Linked DNA regions of Homo sapiens: region 2 is linked to region 1. Evidence: promoter capture Hi-C in human tissues and cell types (Jung and others, 2019). All regions are on one chromosome and are shown on one strand. Each heading gives the region's core, a stretch centred on a gene start or on the middle of the fragment in contact. The rest is flanking DNA. Distances are from core to core; before and after follow the strand shown.

Evidence for each region. The method cuts DNA at HindIII sites, captures the fragments that hold promoters and counts their contacts. A contact is called where the count stands out against the background at its distance.
Region 2: a fragment that was not itself captured here is called in contact with the fragment with the promoter of MSC in region 1 in 1 of the 25 tissues and cell types used here (mesendoderm cells).

Annotation. Positions count from the first base shown.
Region 1 is chr8:71,842,913-71,845,868 of GRCh38, forward strand. MSC (musculin) reads right to left here and starts at 1,500. Exons shown (of 2, transcript NM_005098.4): 1 at 733-1,500. The coding sequence starts at 1,266. MSC-AS1 (MSC antisense RNA 1) reads left to right here and starts at 211. Exons shown (of 5, transcript NR_033652.1): 1 at 211-792; 2 at 1,317-1,510. RefSeq lists a silencer at 849-1,118. The HindIII fragment of the contact is 6,952 bases long and covers 1-2,956 here.
Region 2 is chr8:71,253,453-71,256,408 of GRCh38, forward strand. All of the region lies in intron 11 of EYA1 (EYA transcriptional coactivator and phosphatase 1), which reads right to left. Among named protein-coding and RNA genes, the nearest start is that of EYA1, 110 kb to the right of the region's middle. The HindIII fragment of the contact is 6,702 bases long and covers 1-2,956 here.

The DNA of each region.
Region 1 (2,956 bases), core at 250-2,749:
GGAGGTTGATAATCCGAGACTTGCCATATCCGTTCACGCTTCTTCCTGGACTTTGCCCGCAGGATAATTTGGTGAAACTCATCTGACTTTGAGGTTCTGTCGTTTAGTTCCCTTCCCCAACACACACACACACACACGCACACACACACACACACACACACACACACACAGTCATCCACTCCAAGCTCCAAGTAGGAACTGGGCTTGGACAGGATTTTTCCCAAGCCGGGAGAGCTGGCAGATCAGAGAGGGACTTTCCAGATAAATCCCATCTGGGGAAACGTTACTATCTTCCACAAGCAATTTTTCTAAAAATGCAAATGCTCTTTTATAGAGCTCGGCCTTCCCTCCTTTAAGAAAGGGCTTGCCGATTCAAACCTGCCCGACTCAGCTGGATTAAGTTGGGCAAGGGAGATTTGCCGTCAGTCTGCAACCTGGTGGCAGATGGAGATGGAACCAAGATTTACCCTGGAAGTAGGATATTAGTCAATGGCTGTCACTGGGGTACAATGTTCAGAACGATGCAAACAGACACGGAGGGTTGATTCTTCTTCAGGGAAATGGCTGGCCACTCCCTTGATTTGGGAGAAACTAAACTGGCCTTCTCGTTCCCAGTCCCAGAACCTCCACCCCTTTCGAATTCTTCCCAACGGGCTGACCCTGCCCGGCGCCCAGGAGCGCCCTGGGTATCTCCTGGCTGCTCTCCCGAATCCTTGCGCGCCGCGCCCCTACCAGGTTCACTGGGTGCACGTAGCCGTTCTCATAGCGGTCCTCCTGCAACAGCTGCCGCAGGTGAGCGATGTAACTGGAAGCCAGCCGGAGCGTGTCCAGCTTGGAGAGCTTAGTGTCGGGGGGCACCCAGGGCAGGCTGGTCTTGAGCCTGGAGAAGGCTTTGCTCAGCACGCGCATCCGGGCACGCTCACGGGCGTTGGCCGCGTTCCGCTGCGACTGCTTGCACTCTGCGGCTGAGCCCTTGGCCGGGAGGGGCTTCTTGCCACCACCGCCCGCGCTACCACCTGCGCCGCCGCCCCCAGCCACACGGGGCCGCTTCCTCTTGCAGCCTTCCGCGCTGCCGGCTGTGCCCAGAGCGCAGCGCTCCTCCTCGCCGTCGGGGTCCTCCTCCTCTGCCGACGAGTTGTCACTGGGCGAGGCGTAGCTGCGCTCTACGCCGCGGAGGGGCGGCCTCTTGGAGGCGGGGACCGGGTACTCCCGCTGCAGCCCCCGAAGCTCCATCTCCTCCGGATCACTCACCGAGCCCGTGGACATCCCGTTGTCCCCCTTGCCCACACGCGTCCTCTTTCCTCCCCCCTGGCCAGTCTCGCTGTCTCCGCCTTCCGCTCCCTGGCGGAGGCGGAGGCCAGAGAGCGCTCCAAGGAAGACTAAAAACCCAGGCCGGGAAGCGCGGGGTGAGAAAGCGAGGTGGGTGGCGAGAGCGTGAGCGCCCCTCTGCTGACCCCGGGGAGCGTGGACTACGAGTTGGCGCCCAAGTCCAGAATCCGCGCGCACCGCGGTAAGCTGCGCCTTTTGAAAAGGCTATCTGTACTCCTTGGAACAAACCACCCCGGGCAAAGAAGAGGGGGTTGTAAAGGGGGCCAAGAGGTGGGGCAGGGGCGTGGAAGGGGTGGGGACCGCTTTTCTGCATGCCGAAGAGCGGTTGGTGGAGGCGGGGGAAGGGGACGTCTCTGCAGAGCCGAGATTTGGGCTCTGAAGCCCGACGGCCCTTCAACATGTCTGCGCAGGATAAGTGAGCTTTCGGGGAGTGAAGGGGCACATCTTGTTCCTACCGACGGTGCTTCTACCCCCAGGTAATCTTAGCAGTGGCAAAGATTACCAGACACTTAGAAACGACGGGATTCCGACCTCTGCTTGCCTGCCAGTCTTTCCAGTAGAACTCAGTTTTCAAGTTAACCATTCATGATGTATGATTGTCTACCCAAGCCTTGCTGGACAAGAGAAAAAGCAGAACAGGCAAACAACATCCAACAATGCACAAGTTACCTCTCATTTTCCTCCTCCTTTTCTTATAATATACCTTCATGGTTTACAAAAATGGTTACAATGGTTCGTTGCCTTTTCAAATAACATCTGTAACTTAATGATATTATCTCCAATTTGCAGAACTTGAAGCTGAGCCGCCTAGATAGACGTTAAGTAAAAGACCCAAACTTATTAGGCTAAGTAGAAAAAAAGATTCAAAATCCGCGTTTTGAAATTCTGGCCCGTCGGTATTCTAGTCAGCTCCGTGCCTCCGGGTCACACATCACTGGATGTTGTAGCTGGTATTTTCCACTATCTTGAGAGTTCCATGCGTGATGTGATTTTGTTTTAATACCACAATGCGTGTGTTGGAGGATCCGGCCCTAAAGCTTTGCATTATAATGTAGGGAATCCTTGCTATTGTATTTAATAGATTGTGTATTGAAGAGCGAGCTCCTGGAAGCAGAATGCTAAGTTAGCACAATCGTCCATTCAAAGTAAAAACGACAAAGGAGCACCCTGAATGATCATGTTCCATTCCAAACAAGACTAAAACATCCTGCTCTTCCACACAAGAAAACACAACAATTTTGCAGTCTCATTATTTCCTAACTCGAAGGTCATCGCAGTTCCTGGTCAGGGGATAAGTACGTCTGTGGATACGGGCCCCAGTGGTCAGAGACTGAGTGCCCGCTGTGTGCCCGTCACTGTACTCGCGGCTTGTGAGCAGCTCACTGAGTAATAAAACCCGTATGAGTTTGGCATATGGTTACCCCATTTTACAATGATGAAACTGAGTCGTCACACAGGCTTAGGTGTTCACTTGTTCTTTTCCTGAAAGTCCACAGGCTCCCAAGCTGAGCAAGGTGCAAGGGGACCTATGTGGAGTCAGTCCAGGACAGAGCTGGCAGAGATAGCTGGGCCAGCCTGGCTCCCGCCAGTTCGTACAGCAGAACAAATGCGTCCAGCTCGATGGCTG
Region 2 (2,956 bases), core at 325-2,824, 590 kb before region 1:
GCTCTCTGATGTGAGTATAGCATATTTCTGTAATGTAAATAGTTGATTACTTCCCAGTCAAGATTAGCATGTTAGATTGTATATAAATCTCTAAATCTCTAATAAATATTTATTCTTACACTGAGACAAAGAAACTACCCGTAGAGCAAATGTCCTCAAGTAGGATAGCTGGAATCTGCCTTTAAAGTTAGCCACCAAGCATAGCTATAGACTAACCATGTTAATTCACTGATCCTATCAGTTAGTTCTCTCACTTGAAACTAAGGGTGGTAAATTGAACTTCACCACACTATTGAAAAGATAACAAAGGAATGTGGCACCTGCCAGGTGACTCAGCATGAGTCACTCAAGACACCTACTTGTCCACTAAAGGTAACGAGGAAGCCTTAATCAAAAATATGCAATAATACTGTAGAGCTATTCAAGAAGAGTTGATACTTGAGAAAATATCAAAATTCAGCAAGTGGTTTAGTTTCATCTCAAAACTTCACCTCAGCAAAAATAGCTCTGAGCTAATTATCTGCAACAGGAACTGTCAGTCTTTTTTTCTGGCAGCAAGGCTACAGATATTTGATTCAGATCAATTAAGAATCTGTGGTTCATAAAACTTCCAAACTCTTGAGTTTTCTTCTTCTTAGTCAACCTCCTTAGAGCTAAAACGAAAGAATGTACAGCATAAGTAAAAACATTCTGTAATGGACTGCTGAAGGAGCTTCTCCAACTGGAGTACTGAAGTTTTAAAAACAACAACTAGATGCTCAAGGATATACCCCATCTATAAAGTCTTGGCCAAAAAAAAAAAAAAAAAAAAAAAAAGAAAAGGAAACTGAATCTAACTAAGCAAGCTCCTAGATCTAGCTATCAGATTGTAGGAAATACAGAGGACAAAGAAACATGTTAAATAATACAATAGGGTTGCTGTCAAGAAAACCCAGACTCCCAGGAACTCTGTAGGACAGACAGTCTGGTTACTTCAACAGAAATACACAAGGTTTATAAAAAGGGATTGAGTGAGAATCTATAGATTATAGACACTTAGGAGACATATAATAAACTGTAAAGTAAATAAACAAAACTACTGGAGAAAAACACTTTATAAACTAGAAAGAAAAGGAAATTACCCAGCAAAATAAAGCTCATATATGAAAAGCCCACAACGAACATCATACTCAATGGTAAATGTCTGAAAGTTTTTCCTCTAAGATCAGGAACAAGACAACCAGGCTGCTTTTGCCACTTCTGTGTAACAAAACATAGAAGTTCTAGCCAGAAGTATTAGGCAAGAATAACAAATAAAAGGCGTCAAAGTTGTAAAAGAAGAAGTAAAATGATATCTGTTTACAATGACATAATTTTGTGTGTAGAAAGCCCCGAAGACCTCCCCCCACCCCGCCCCCCACCACACACACAGAGTCTGTTAGAACTAATGAATACATTCAGCACAGTTGCAGGATGAAAAAACAACACACAAAAATCAGTTGTGTTTCTATACACTAACAACGACTAAGCCAGGAAATAAATTAAGAAAATGATTCCATTTACAATAGCAGAAATGAAAGAAATCAAATACTTAGGAATAAACTTAAATAGGGAGGGAAAACACTTGTACGCTGAAAAATTTTAAAAAATTATTGCTAAAAACATTAAAGAAGATACAAATAAATGGAAAGACATCCCATGTTCATGGATGAAAGATATAGTGTTAAGATGTCAATACTATCCAAAGTGATGTACAGATCTAATGCAATCCCTATCAAATCCCCAATAGTATTTTTTTGCAGAAACAGAAAACTCCATTTTGAAGTTTATATGAAATCTCAAGGGACCTTGAAGATCCAAAACAATTTTAAAAAATAACAAACTTGGAAGTGTTACACTTGCCAATTTCAAAACTGATTACAAAGACACAGTAATCAAAACAATGTGGTTCTGGCAAAAATACAGATGTACAGACCAATGGAATATAGAGAGAGACCAGAAATAAGCCCTCACATGTATGATAAGATGATTTTCAATAAGGGTGCTAAGACCATTCAATGAGGAAATAATAGTCTTTTCAACAAACGGTGCTGGGGAAACTGGATATCCACATGCAAAAAATTCAAGGTAAATCGTTACCTTACACCATATGCAAAAATTAACTCAAAATAGATCAAAAACCTAAATGAAAGACCTAAAATATAAAATGGTATAGGAAAAGCTTCATGACATTGGATTTGTCAATGACTTTTTGGATATGACACCAAAAGCAAAGGCAATAACCAAGAAAATAAATTCAAAACATCAAAATGAAAAATGTGTATAATCAAAGGAAACAACAGTGAAAAGGCAGGCCACGGAATGGGAGAAAATATTTGAAAATCATATATTTAATAAGGGGTCAATATCCAGAATATGTAAAGACCTCCTATGACTCAATAAAAAAAACCCTGATTTAAAAAATGGGAAAAGGATCATCTCTAAAGAAGTTATACAAATGGTCAAAAAGCACATGAAATATGCTCATCATCATTATTCATGAGGGAAATGTGAACCCAAACCACTGTGAGTTATTATCTCACAGCCATTAGAATGGCTACTATCAGAAAACAAAAAACAGAAAATAATAAGTGTTGATGAGGATGTGGAGAAATTGGAATCCCTGTGCACAGCTGGTGGGAACATAAAATGCTGCAGCTGCTAAGATAAACAGTACAGCAGTTTCTCAAAAAATTAAGTATATAATTACTATATGATCCCACAATTCCCCTTCTGATTATATACCCAAAAAATACTAAAAGCAGGGAAGACATTTTGCATACTCATATTCATAGCAGCATTATTTAAAACAGTCATAGGTGGAAGCAACTCAAATGACCATTGATAGATATATCAAAAAAATAAAATGTGGCATATACATACAACAGAATATTATGTAACCTTAAAAAGGGAGGAAATTCTGACATGTTATAACACG